Linked DNA regions of Homo sapiens: region 1 is linked to region 2. Evidence: promoter capture Hi-C in human tissues and cell types (Jung and others, 2019). All regions are on one chromosome and are shown on one strand. Each heading gives the region's core, a stretch centred on a gene start or on the middle of the fragment in contact. The rest is flanking DNA. Distances are from core to core; before and after follow the strand shown. Region 1 overlaps ARMH3 (armadillo like helical domain containing 3). Region 2 holds the start of LDB1 (LIM domain binding 1).

The links. Contacts are between HindIII fragments. The study calls those that stand out against the background at their distance.
Region 1: a fragment that was not itself captured here is called in contact with the fragment with the promoter of LDB1 in region 2 in 4 of the 25 tissues and cell types used here (IMR-90 fibroblasts, heart left ventricle, lymphoblastoid cells and 1 more).

Annotation. Positions count from the first base shown.
Region 1 is chr10:102,001,071-102,007,707 of GRCh38, reverse strand. ARMH3 (armadillo like helical domain containing 3) reads left to right here. Exons shown (of 26, transcript NM_024541.3): 14 at 1,075-1,168; 15 at 5,636-5,737. Among named protein-coding and RNA genes, the nearest start is that of ARMH3, 52 kb to the left of the region's middle. RefSeq lists a silencer at 3,133-3,182. The HindIII fragment of the contact is 7,966 bases long and covers 1-5,677 here.
Region 2 is chr10:102,117,710-102,125,080 of GRCh38, reverse strand. LDB1 (LIM domain binding 1) reads left to right here and starts at 4,713. Exons shown (of 11, transcript NM_001113407.3): 1 at 4,713-4,995. The coding sequence starts at 4,971. It also overlaps a transcript of PPRC1 not described here. RefSeq lists enhancers at 2,574-3,323, 3,324-4,075, 4,076-4,827, 6,533-7,234, 7,235-7,371 and silencers at 4,324-4,453, 4,474-4,773, 4,834-4,913, 5,004-5,073. The HindIII fragment of the contact is 10,982 bases long and covers 1-7,371 here.

The DNA of each region.
Region 1 (6,637 bases), core at 445-2,944, 110 kb after region 2:
GTGCCTGCCACCACACCTGGCTAATTTTTTTTTTTTTTTTTTTTTTTTTTTAGTAGAGACAGAGTTTCACTGTGTTAGCCAGGATGGTCTTGATCCCCTGACCTCGTGGTCCATCTGCCTCGGCCTCCCAAAAGTGCTGGGATTACTGGTGTGAGCCACCGCACCCGGCTGAATAGCTCTTTTTATAGTACCTGGTATCCCCTTGACTCATCTACATCTGCTAGTCAATTATTTGGTTATCAGAACAGCCTATTGATGTGTTTTAGGTTGATCTGATGAGATCCCAGGTCTGGATGGGATTGCAAATGTTCTCTGCTCTCTTGTAGAATAATCCTGTATATTTGTTGACCCCAGTTTTTTTTTTTTTTTTTAAATGTCTGTGGTGCCACAGAAAAACTTATGTAATGGGAACCTAGTTGCTTAAGATAAATTAGCACACAGAGCTTATTAGAGATTAGCAAGCATCAGTCGTAATCAAGTACTCATGAGAACGAAATACAGAAGTAGTCCCTTCTCAGCTTTTTTTTTCTTTTTTTTTTTTTTTTTTTGAGATAGAGTCTTGCTGTGTCACCAGGCTGGAGTGCAGTGGCGTGATATCACCTCACTGCAACCTCCGCCTCCTGGGTTCAAGTGATTCTCCTGCCTCAGCCTTCCAAGTAGTTGGGACTACAGGCATGCACCACCATGCCTGGCTAATTTTTTGTATTTTAGTAGAGACGGGGTTTCACCGTGTTGGCCAGGATGGTCTCGATCTCCTGACCTTGTGATCTGCCCAGGCCTCCCTAAGTGCTGGGATTATGGGTGTGATCCACTGTGCCCAGCCTCAGTGAGCTTTCTAATTATGAGACTAGGGGCACAGTGGCATGCATCTGTAGTCCTACGTACACAGGAGGCTGAGGCAGGAGAGTGCTTGAGCCTAGGATTTCGAGACCAGCTTGGACAACATAGCAAGATGCTGTCTCAAAAAAAAAAAATTATAAGGTCCAGAATACCAGTCCTTATTGGTATTAGGCACTTGATACTCAGGGAGAACTGGATTTTCTGTTTTCTTACACATCTGTGTATCTTTTTCAGAGCCATCCAGAAATGGGCTTGGTGACGACCCCTGTCAGTCCTGCTCCTACAACCCCAGTCACACCACTTGGGACCACACCGCCTTCCTCTGATGGTGAGCCCACCACCACTTTGTTTTTCTTGGTTAATATGATCTTAGATCTCTCAGAGTGAGCATAGCTGTGTTCAACAAAGAACCTACGTAGTTGTTAATTTTTCCCACTAAATTGGTCTGTAGTACTATCCTTCAGGCCTCCTAAATTTCCAAAGAAAACTTTGGAAAAAGACAGTCCAGTGATTTTCTCTGTAAAAGAAGCTTACATAACTCTAGCTTTTCCTCCTCAGGGAGTAGTTGTAGAGGCATGGAGTGCTAGACCTGCAAGGTCAGTAATGCCTGTCCTGCCACACTCTCAGAGTCCTTGTGAGGCTCAGATGAGATATTTTGTGAAAAATGTCACCTTGTGATTATAAAGCACTGAAATGAATGTAAAATAGTAATGTTATCTGATGTTACCATTTGATCAATGAGGGAATTAAGGCCAGAGAAATGAAGCAGTTTGCCTAAGATTAGTGAGAGTAGAGACTGAGAACCCAAACATGTAAGCAGGATCTTGTCTATTTTGTTTACTACTAAATGCCTAGCATAGTGCCCAGCATGGTACTTGCTTAATAAATATTTGTTGAATAAATGAATGAGAATGTGAACCTGGCACTCACTCACTGTTATGTGTCTATCAGCCACTCCCAGTTGGAAAGGACAGGCTTTGAGTGTATTATAATTGGGAGTTTGGTGGATACGTAAGATTTATCTCCCTCAAGACAACAACGGTGAAAATTTCCCCTTCATAAATCTTATGGCTGGAACCTAAGAAAAAGGCAACAGAAAAGAAATTATGAATTTTTGCCAAAAATTTTGAGGTCTATTATAGGCTGAGTGTGTTTGGTGGAATATTGTAACCTAAAAACAATCTATGTTAATATTTGATGTTGTAGCTCAAAGATTGACCTTGTTTTGGTAAAGAAGTACAGACAATCCAACTTTGATACTTTCTTTTTGCCTCCCCACTGTTTGTACGTGAAATGACCTTCTTTATTCTTTCTCTCCTTTAAGTTTTCATATACCACCCGTGGCAGTAACATTTCCAGGCAGTATAAACAGTACAGAACTATGACAGGGAGGTGCCATTGTTAGTTATATATATGGTAGCAAATTGGATCTGTTTAGAATTGAAAGCCAAATCCCAAAATATCTTTTTTTTTTTTTTTTTTTTTTTGAGACAGAGTCTTGCTGTCATTTAGGCTAGAGTGTGGTAGTGTGATCTCGGCTCACTGCAACCTCTGCCTCCCAGATTCAGGCGATTCTCATGCCTCAGCCTTCTGAGTAGCTGAGATTACAGGCATGTACCACAATGCCCGGCTAATTTTTGTATGTTTATTTTTATTTATTTATTTGTTTTTGAGACGGAGTCTCGCACTGTTGCCTAGGCTGGAGTGCAGGGGTGCGATCTCAGCTCACCGCAACCTCCACCTCCCAGGTTCAAGTGATTCTCCTGCCTCAGCCTCCCTGGGACTACAGGTGTGTGCCACCATGCCCGGCTAATTTTTTGTATTTTTAGTAGAGATGGGGTTTCACAGTGTTAGCCAGGATGATCTCGATCTCCTGACCTCGTGATCCGCCTGCCTCGGCCTCCCAAAGTGCTGGGATTACAGGCGTGAGCCACCACGCCTGGCCAATTTTTGTATTTTTAGTAGAGATGGGGTTTCACTGTATTGGCCAGGCTGGTCCCGAACTCCTGACCTCAGGTGATCCGCCTGCCTCGGGCTCCCAAAGTGCTGGGATTACACCCATGAGCCACCATGCCCAGCCCCAAAATATCTTACTGAGAAGGAGCAAGTAGTAAGGATTGCCTACTTGTCTCTGTTTATTCAGGCCACAGAATAACCCAATGGAAATACAGTACTTTCTCTTTAAGAATGAACCCTGCCTGGTTACCATGGATATCAAAAGCCATATATATATATATGAGTTCCATGTGATGTTGGGGTTTGGATGCTTCAGAGAACTGCCTTTCAAACTGTTCATTGTGAACACTTCCACCCACACACTTGATTATGCAATGGTAGGATTTGTGCTTACTTACCTACAACCAGTGAGCTTTTATTTTTTCTAGTGGGAAGATCAAGTCAGCCCACTTTCAAATGACTGTCTCCCTTGACAAAAGCTGCTGGGAAGAATTATGAAGCCAAAGATCAAGGAATGACTCTTCCTTAGGAAGAAGATTTTAATTTGTGAGGGATTTTATTCTGTCTCTGTTCTATTTGTTCTTTTCCCTGTCTCCTAACTCATTTCCTTCTGTAGGGTTCCTAAGTATTACAACCTTGTTTTTAATTTTTAGATCTTAATTATAGTGGTGTTCAGTAGCCCACTTATATTTAAAGGTATGTCACCAGAGCCATATTTTTAAAAGCCGGCAGTTTAGCTATAACATTTGTTCTCAGCTCAGACTTGACATTTGACAACTCAGCCTTGGCATGAGAGGACTTTCTGGTAAACTAAAAATACATATACTTCTATATTTCTACATATTATATAAGATAGTTTTCCAGTTATTGCTGTGTATGAGCAGGAAAAAAGCCCCACTTACCAGTTAGGTGCCTCCTTGTATTGGACAAAGGGATGATTACGGGTTCTGAGCTTCAAAACAGGCTGTGGTTTGAAATGACAGTCTTGGGTCATTAACCCATAACATGAATTAAAACCTTTTAGTATTTCAACATAAAAATATATTTGTCTTATATTAGCTCTTGGAGGCCTAACTGGGAAAATAGCCAGGGGTTGGGCATGCTGATTTCTTTTCATAAGGCTTTTTGTTGTGCTTGCTGTTTATTATGGGTTCATAAAATGCAAATGTTTCTCACTGTTCATAAATGTTCTCTGCATATGTCGTAATAACTCCAGAGGGATCTGTTATGGTTATGAATACATATTATGAGTAATATCCCAAAGTCAACTGAGTCTTCATGGCTGAAAATGTAGCAGAAAGCCATAGATTCTCTAGCTTTTTTGGGCCATTATAAGACTCCTTTTAACTTATATATTGTGTCTTAGGCAGTGTAAAAGCACTTAACAAGAGGTCTGAGTCTAATTTAAAGTCTTAGAATTTTGGGAAGCCTACATTAAGACTTTGTTCTGGGCCAGGCACAGTGGCTCATGCCTTAATCCCAACACTTTGGGAGGCCCGAGGTGGGTGGATTGCTTGAGGTCAGGAGTTCAAGACCAGCCTGGCCAACATGGTGAAACCCTGTTTCTACTAAAATACAAAAATTAGCTGGGCATGGTGGTGGGTGCCTGTAATCCAAGCTATTTGGGAGGCGGAGGCAGGAGAATTGCTTGAACCCAGGAGACGGAGGTTGCAGTGAGCTGAGATGGCACCACTGCACTCTAGCCTGGGCAACAGAGCGAGACTCTGTCTCAAAAAAAAAGAAAATACTGTGTTCTGTGGTCAGCCCTGGTCATTAGAGGCCAATTATCTGTCATTGTTCATTGGGACTGTGGCTCAGAGAACTGGGTGGGGGATTTCTCTTAGAAACATCAGCTAGGTATGTAAAACTCAGTTCCCAGGCTGTTCCAATCAGTAATGTTCATCTGTTTTTATTTATTTATTTATTTATTTATTTATTTATTTATTTATTTGTGACAGAGTCTCGCTGTGTCACCCAGGCTGGAGTGCAGTGGCGCCATCTCGGCTCACTACAACCTCCGCCTCCCGGTTTCAAGCAATTCTCCTGCCTCAGCTTCCCTAGTAGGTGGGATTATAGGCACCGACCACCATGCCCAGCTAATTTTTGTATTTTTAGTAGAGATGGGGTTTCACCATGTTGGCCAGGCTGACCTCGAACTCCTGACCTTAGGTGATGTGCCCAACTCGGGCTCCCAAAGTGCTGGGATTACAGGCGTGAGCCACTGCGCTTGACCTGTTCATCTGTTTTCAGTCTACTATTACTTTCAGTTCCCTTAAGCGGGGAAGGGAAGTCTGCCACTTAATAGTGGTAGAATTTGAATATAGTTCTGCCTTAACATTTTCCCCTCTCTATCATGGGTACGTCCAGCCTAAAGACTTGTTCTCAAAATTCAGCAAGATTTCTCCTTGTTAGGGAGGAATCTTCACTGATTTCAAGCAGGAGACCCATCAAAGTAAAACTCATTTATATTCAATACAGATCTTTCCTTCAGGTAGAAATCGAAGTTTCTTTAAGAAGGGCCTTAAACTCTTTGGGGATACTTGGGGCAGGAAGTGGAATCAACATACCCTTCCCAGGATGTTGGGAGAAAAAGCACCGTTCTTGGAGACTGGCCCTAGATAGGAGAGCAGGTCACTGGGCTTAATTTGGGGAATAGGAAGGGGGCTCTACAGGCTTAGGAAGAGTAGATAAAAGTTTTGTGATGAGCACTTGGTCCTCCCTCTGTTGTGGAAAAAGCTTATTTAGTGATTTTTTTGCCTGCTGGCAAATTGGCTATGTGGGTAGAAGTGTTAGATGGAATATGTTGCAGGCTAAGTGCATTTTATCTGTTCTATTCCAGTTATAAGTTCTGTGGAACTCCCACTGGATGCAGATGTACAGACCAGTAATCTACTGATAACCTTTTTAAAGTATAGCTCAATTGTCATGCAGGACACCAAAGGTAAGCCATAGCTATTTTGGGGGCTCAGGAAGTCAAAGGTGTGGCAGGCAGCTAGCATCAAAGAGCAACATTAATATTTTGAAGCTTTGACAAGATGAACTATTGGGGCCTTGTGTACATGGTCTTCATTGCTGGAAAATAGTGATGTCTCACCTAATTGCTAGATGGCAATTAGGTGGTGTTGGGAAAACCTGAAGCTGGAGGGGAGTACTCAAAAATAGAACAGGAAAAAAATTGGTCTCTTTGAAAGCTAGCAAATCTTCTTAGCAGATCTTGGTAAGTAGATGCAGACTCTTATGTGTGGGAAGTGGAGGGATTAGCACGCTTCAGGGAATTCCCTTTTGAGGACAGGAACTGAAAGCATCAGCTCGTGGTGAGAATTAGAGGACTGTCGTACACAGTACAGTAGGAAGAGGTGAGATTCAGAGGGACTCTGTTCTTGAACACTTAAAATAGAAGTGTCAATACCCATCCTAGAAATGCAAGAGTGGAAGTGGGAGAGGATTGAGTGTTGGAAAAGTTTGAGGTTTTGTTGTGTGATTTCCTGTTTTTCCTCTGTTTGTGATTTTGCCATGGCCTTTTACTTGGTGGTAGAGTAGTGGAGTAGTTGTCCTAGGATTGAGAAGGGGTTGGAAGGAGACACAGCAAATTCTATCCAGTATATATCTTAGTTTTGTTTTTTTTCCCCTACTTAGCATTTTTCTTTATACAGGATTTATGTGAGTGTTCACAATTTTTATGTTTGTTTTTATTGTGGTAAAGTATATATAACAAAATTTACCATCTTAACCATATTTAAATGTACTATTTAGTTGCATTACCTACTTCCATATTTTTGTACAACCATCATCACTGGCTGGGTACGGTGGCTCATGCCTGTAATCCCAGCCCTTTGGGAGG
Region 2 (7,371 bases), core at 3,464-5,963:
AGGCTTGGTGTGGTACGGGCCTGTAGTCCCAGACATTCAGAAGGCTGAGGCAAGAGGACTGCTTGAGCCCAGGAGTCCGAGTCCAGCCTGGGCAACACAGCAAGACTATAAAATAAAAAACAAAAAACAAGGGCCAGGGTCAGGCAGTGGCTCATGTCTGTAATCCCAGCACATTGGAAGGTCAAGGCAGGAGGATCACTTGAGGCCAGCCAGAAGTTCAATACCAGCCTGGCTAACAGCAAGAAACCTGTCTCTACAAAAAATAAAAAAGTTAGTTGGACACAGTGGTGTGTACCTATAGTCCTAGCTACTTGGGAGGCTGAGGCAGGAGAACTGCTTAAGCCCAGAAGTTTGAGGCTGCAGTTACCTATGACCATATCACTGCACTCCAGCCTGGGTGACAGAGCAAGATTCTGTCTCAAAAAAAAAAAAAAAAAAATGGCCAGGCACAGTGGCTCACGCCTGTAATCCCAACACTTTGGGAGGCCGAGGCGGGTGAATCACTTGGAGGCCAACATGGTGAAACCCCATCTCTACTAAAAATACAAAATTAGCCAAGTGTGGTGGTGCGCGCCTGTAATCCCAGCTACTCCGGAGGCTGAGGCAAGAGAATCACTTCAACCCGGGAGGCGGAGGTTAAAGTGAGCTGAGATTGCACCACTGCACTCCAGCCTGGGCAACAGAGTGAGACTGTCTCAACAAGAAAGAAAAGAAAGAAGGCCGGGCGCGGTGGCTCACATCTGTAATCCCAGCACTTTGGGAGGCCAAGGCAGGCAGATCACAAGGTCAGGAGTTCGAGACCAGCCTGACTAACATGGCGAAACCCCATCTCTACTAAAAATACAAAAATTAGCCAGGTGTGGTGGTGGTGCCTGTAATCCTAGCTACTCAGGAGACTGAGGCAGGAGAATCGCTTGAACCTGGGAGGCGGCGGTTGCAGTGAACTGAGATCGTGCCACTGCAATCCAGTCTGGGCGACAAGAGCGAGACTCTGTCTAAAAAAAAAAAAGAATAAAGTTTAAAAATAAAAAGCTAGAATGCCTCTGAATTGATCATTTAAAAATGGTTAATTTTTAGCCAGGCATGGTGGTGCATGCCTATAATCCCAGGTACTCAGCAGGCTGAGGCAGGAGAATCACTTGAAACCGGGAGGCAGAGGTTGCAGTGAGCTGAAATTGCGCCATTGCACTCCAGCCTGGGCAACAAGAGCGAAACTCCATCTCAAAAAAAAAAAAAAAAAAAAAAAAGGCCGGGCGTGGTGGCTCACGCCTATAATCCCAGCATTTTGGGAGGCCAAGGTGGGCGGATCACCTGAGGTTGGGAGATCCAGACCAGCCTGACCAACATGGAGAAACCCTGTCTCTACTAAAAAAAATACAAAAATTAGCCAGGCGTGGTGGCAGGTGCCTGTAATCCCAGCTACTCAGGAGGCTGAGGCGTAGGGAGAATTGCTTGAACTGGAGAGGTGGAGGTTGCAGTGAGCTGAGATTGCACCACTGCACTCCAGCTTGGGCGACAGCGCAAGACTCCGTCTAAAAAAAAAAGGTTAATTTTATGTTATGTGAATTTTACCACACACATACAGAGGGAGAGAGAGAGAATACTGGGCACTTACACCCATCCATACAAATCAGCTAAGCCTCCAGTCCTCCAGGACATTGTCATTAAGTTAAAGACCCCCCCTCCACATAGACTCCACCCCCTTCCTACCACATCCCTTCTGTCTGCCAGGTGTCTGTGACCTCTCTTCCCATTTTTGCCTATACCACAATTCCCAGAGATGCTCCAAAGATGTTCTCTTCTCCCTCCCCAGGTCTGATCCACACTAGAAGTAAGGCAAGGAGTGGAGCAATGGGTCAAGTGCTTGTTAGCTCTGTTACCTTGGCAAAGTTAACTAACTTGCCTAAATGGAGTTCCTGTAGGAGCCCCAATCACTTATTTTAACCACCCATTCAACAGTACTGAGATGGTATTTCCTTACCGGTAACTGGGCTATAGTGTCAGTGGGAGTGGGAAGGGTAATCTTCCCAGAGAAGGTGAAGCTAGAACTAAGGTGTTAAGGAAGCATTAACTAGTAGGTGAAGAAGAGGGAGAACAGTGTTTTACAGGCAAGTTCAAATTTATTATCATCTCTGAACTTCAGTTTTCCTACTTGTTCAATGGAGGTAATAGCACCTTCTTCCAAAGGTCCTCATGAAAGGTAAATGAGTCGGCAAGTGTAAAAGGCCTAGGGCAGTGCCTGGCATTAGTGCATGCTCAAGTAAGGCAGTTTTTTCTTCCTTCCTAAGCTTCTACCTTCCACATGTGTAATCTAGGAGAGGGAAATCTCAGATTCACAGGAGGCAAAGACCTTTATAGGGTGGGTTGTAGTCCCCCTGTCCACCCAGATGATCACCATTGTGTTGGTCAGCATGGAATCTGACCAAGCTAGTTGTTTGGAATGAGTGGCCTTAGGCGTAAGTGGTCACAGGATTGGAGGAAGGCAAATTCATGGACAGAAAAGAGAGAAGGAGGTCAAGGTAGGTATTCCCCCTCCTCCAAACCATCTCAAATTGTCCTGCCAATCCAGCCCCCTCCTCTCTTGGAATTGGATAATCTTAAAAAAAAAAAAAAAAAAAGGGCAGAAAGAACACGTATTTACAGGACTGCCTGGCTGACACTGGGCTACGTGACTGGGTGTACATTGTCTAGTTTGATACTCACCAAGCCATAGGTTACAGAGGATAAAGCTAGTGTCCCAGGTGGGGTGGTCAGTTGTCTCAAATCACTCAGGTATTGAGGAGCGAATCTTGCGTTCAAACCTAGGTATCCACAATTTCGGGCCAGTGTTCTGTTGCCTTATGTTCTCTCTACTCCCTCTAGTGCTGACCTTTGTCTGGGAGAATGCAGGGAGGGGGTGCACTCAGGCAGGGGATGCTGCCAAGGAAATACTTGTGTGAGTGTGGATGGCTTCAGTCAGGTCCTCTCTGCTCCTGGTGGGGGTGGAGATGGGGAAACCTGGGGGTGGGAGACTCCACAGTGTACAAGCTCCCCTATCCCCCATCCTAAGCACATGGTGGGGAGGGTCTCCATTCCTAGGCAGGCCTTCTTTTCAATCCCTGGACTCTGCACCGTTCCATCATTTCATGCTCCCTCAGCAAAAACCTAAGGTGGAGAGAAGAGGTCTCATAAACACTTTAAGCCTCCGCATTTGTAACCCTCCCCCAGCCAGTCAAGCCAGCTGTGCAGACTCTGAGCCAGAGTGAGGGAACCAAACAGCCTTCTCAACCAACACCCCTCTAAGTAACAAAGAGGAGAACCCCCTACCCAGTCAGGGCCAGACGCCCTAGGGAGGAGACACTAGTCCAAGTCTCCATCGTCTATCCCTGGAGCCCATACTGAAACTTAAGAAAGAAAAGCTAGCAGCTGGGGACCCCAGGAGGGAGGGGGTCAACTCTCTACTCCAGGCGGCTCCCCTCCCTTCCCTCCTCCTGGCTAATAGGTATTTCCTGTTTATGAGGCAGCTAAAGCTGAGCTTTTGGGAAGGGATGGAGATGGAGCCCCTCCCCTCCTAGGGCTGGGTTGGGGAGTCCTTGAAGTGTGACTGAAGGTTGGGAGGCTCCTCCCAGGGGAAGGAGTGTTCCTTACATTGACCATCCACATCATCTCCCATCCAACCCCCCACGGCCCACAGCCTCTGCCTCTCTGGGTTAGGGGGCACTGGAGGGGCCTGTTTCCTGTTCTCATCTCCGAAGCCCTCAAAGGACAGCAGCTTCCAGGCAGGGGGGTCGGAGGCGGTGGGGTTGGGCGGTTGGTACGGAGGTGAAGGCACCAAGGCTGGAGAAAGGGGGGAAGGGAAGAGAGTGTCTTGACTGATGCGTCAGTCTGCAAGAAGGAAGGATGGCCTCCTATCGCCCCTCCGTAATCCAATCTGGTGGTCATTCCGCAGCCCCCTCCCCCCAGCAAAACACAGATCCCAAGCCCTTAGGCGGAGGAGGGCGGGGACCCCACTTAATTAACCCTTTTAGTTCTAGTCCCAACTGGTTTCGCAGGCAAAGGAGGAGTGGTTAATTTAGGGAAGGGGTGAGTTGAGGGGTTGCTACAAGAATTAAGAGAATGCTTCTTTACCCATCCAGCCTAGGGTAGGGACGCGAAACAAGGGGCCTCCAGAAGAAGGCTGGCGTCTCAGCAGGGAGCACGGACAGGGGGTCTGCAGTCCCTTTTCCCTCCCGGAGCGCGGCCCGGGGTGGAGAGAGATACACCACACTGCCCACCCCGGCTCCGCCTCCCCCAGCCGCGGCTCCCGCTCCGGCTCAGCCAGACTCCCCATCCGGCGGCACCCGGAGGACGGACACCGAGCGCGCGGCTGCGCCTCCAAGCCCTCCCCTTCGCCCTCCCTCTCTGGGGTCTCTGCCTCCGTCTCCTTTTTTAAAAGCTGCGTCACATGCATGCCGTTCCCCGAGCGCTCCCAGCCCCTCGCCGCCCGCCCGCCGCGCGGCGCACGCACGTCGTCGCTTGCTGCGCGCTCTCCCGGGTCACTTTGACACGGCTCTCCCCTCCCACTAGCAGGACAATTAGCATATTAATAAAGCCCGGCCCTGCCCGGCTTGGGCTGGGGAGCCGGCGCCGGCGCGAGGGAGCGCGAGCGCGAGGGCGGAGAGGGGGGCGCTCGGCGACGGCGGCGGGAGCGCACAGACACGCACACGCACACGCGCACACACGCACACACGGACACACACTCCGCGGACTCACACCCGCGCGCACACACGCAGAGGCCGCTCGCCTTCCTGCCTGGCTTCCTTCCTGTCTGCTCCGCGCCTGACAGGCCCCTCGCCGCAGCCAGGGGCCGCCCGCACCGGGCCGAGGCCGGGCCGGGCCGGCGGCGAGCGCAGCGGGGGCCGCGGGCGGCGGCGGCGGCTCATGCCCGGCCTGTCCCCGCGAGGGGCGGGCACCGTGACTCGGCTGGGCCCCCAGAGGCGGGCGATGTGAAGATGTCAGTGGGCTGTGCCTGTCCTGGTGAGTGGGGCGTGCGGCCACTCGGCCCCTTCCTGCCCAGCCGTCCCTGCGGACCCCTCACCCCGTGTTTGGCGAGAACTTGTGTGGGGGGCGTCGATGGCATGGGGGAAGCCGGGGGCTGGAAGGGCTACGCGGGGCCTCAGGCTGGCGGGTAGCGTTTTCCCCAACTGTGTAAATGCGCAGCAGCCCAGAAACACGGGGAGGAGACGCTGGGGGTGGCTTATGTGTATGTTTTTTTGGGGGTAGGCTAATTGGGGAGAGGTTTGGGGGGGGCTGAAATTCTCAGAATTCCAGGTTGTTAGCCAATCAGAAGTGACTCTGGACTTTTGACCCCCCCCCTCAGGTCACCATAGAGTTGTGATTGGCTGGTTTGGGCTGCCCCCCCTTCCCTGCTGCCCATTGCCTCTTACCTATCCTGTGACATCCCCCCCATGCTGTTTCTGAGGACCCTGTTTGCAGGGAGGTATTGATTGCGGCCCATCTTGCCCCCCACCTTCAACTTTTCCTGCCTGTTGCCAGGGAAGGTTGGCCCTCCTGAGGCACCGGAGGTACTCCTAAGAGGTGCCAGATAATTGGACCCTTGGGTCTGGCATCTCCGCCCTAGTGGGAGGGCAGGCTAGGAAATAGAGTGATTTGTGGAGAGGTAAGCTGGGGGAGCAATACTTGACCCAAAACTGAGAACTTGAGAGAGGACCCAGGCTCAGATCCCTGCCTCCCCAAAACATATCAGCTCTTGCCAGGGATAGCCTAGGTCTGAGTTTTTTTCCTGGGGGGCAGGTGGGGGGGGCGGAGGGCGTCTACCTCACTGCCAGGAGGAAAGAGAGAAGCCATGCGACTGGAGAGGTAGTCTACAGAGGGCCTCACGGCACACTGTCTGTCTCCATCCCCGGGACTCTGGGTCCTGGAATTGGCCCTCCTGCCCCAGACTGGAGTCAGCTTTCTCCTGGAAGTCAGTGTCCCTGAATGTAGCCCGCTTTGGCTACATACTTCACAGCTGGACACCCACCACTCCCCCACAAATCCCCAAGGGAAGCTGCCAGTGCGGAAGCTTCCTTGAAAATCATGTGACCCAGGCCAAGCTGGGCTGGGCACACACTTCAGGTGCCTGCTGAGGCTGATGTCTAAGGGGCATGGGTCCCAGAAGGAGGAATAAGAGAACCTAACAATCCTAGAATATCCGAGTATGGGAACCACTGGCTCCTGCTGCAGAGGGTTGGGGAGAGGAGAGGGAAGAGCTTGCCAAGCTGGAATCCTGTCTGGCCCCGTCGTCCCTCTTTCTACCAGCTTGGTGTACATGTTTATGTTGTGGATTTTCTCCTTTATAATTGACCCATGCTGGGTACCCCTTTCAGATCCATCATGTTCTTAGCCCACCCCAGGGCCCTGACCCTCCATCAACACACATGAGCAGAGCAGTTAAACTAAGGATCTGAACAAGCTAGAGGGATGAGTCTTAAATTGTGATTCTTAGTTCCTACAAATAGTGGGTAAGCGGGTATGTATGTATGGAGGGGTTGTCAGGCTGGAGGTGGATGGGAGGTTGGCCCTGAAGTTGGGGCAGGGTGCCTGGGTCCAGTGGGAGGAGAGAGAAAATCTCTTCTTCTTAGTCTCTGGGAGCAGCATGGGAACAGGAAGAGGGCCCAAGCCCAGGGGTTTGTGGGTGGGTGGGAAGACAACTTCAGTCAATGCCCCAGAAGGCATGTTCCTTTTGTGTCTGGTGGTCTGACTGAGGGAGAGAGGGCAAAAGATAGGGAAGAGTGGGGAGTCTTTTTCCAGATCATGAAGAAGTCTTATAGATTGATGCCAAAGAGGGTGGATGGAGGTTAGACTTCAAGGAGAACCACATGGGGAGGGCTTCAGAGTAGACTGGAGGTGGGGAATAGTAGCAGTTGAGGTTAGAGAGGGGACCTGGCTTGCAGCTTGCTTGGATGGGGGAGCACATGCTTGAACACAAGGAAGGCATGGCAGCATGTAGCAGTCCAGGCCCAAAGATTTCCCCCACCTTGAGCAGCCCTGGGGTGAGGGCTGAGGCGCCCTGGCAGGCCGCCTGCCGCCTGCCTGCCTGCCTGTCTGAGTCTCTCCTTTGTGTTCTGCTGTCTCCGGGCTCCTCCTCCTCCCCCAGCCCGGCAGAGACAGCACATGCCCCACACATGTGACTGAGGGAAGCCAGAGCGCACACAGACCCACACACATGCACACGCAGAAGCACCACAAGATACACACATACACATGCCCAACACCCATATTGCTCCTGGGGTGAGGACCAGCTTCTGGGGCTGGAATGGCTGGGAGCAGGGAGAGCCTCTGACTAAGGGGCATCACCCTGAGCAAGAGGCTGAGGGGGCCAGGGCCTGTCTGGGGCAGCATGTGGCTCAG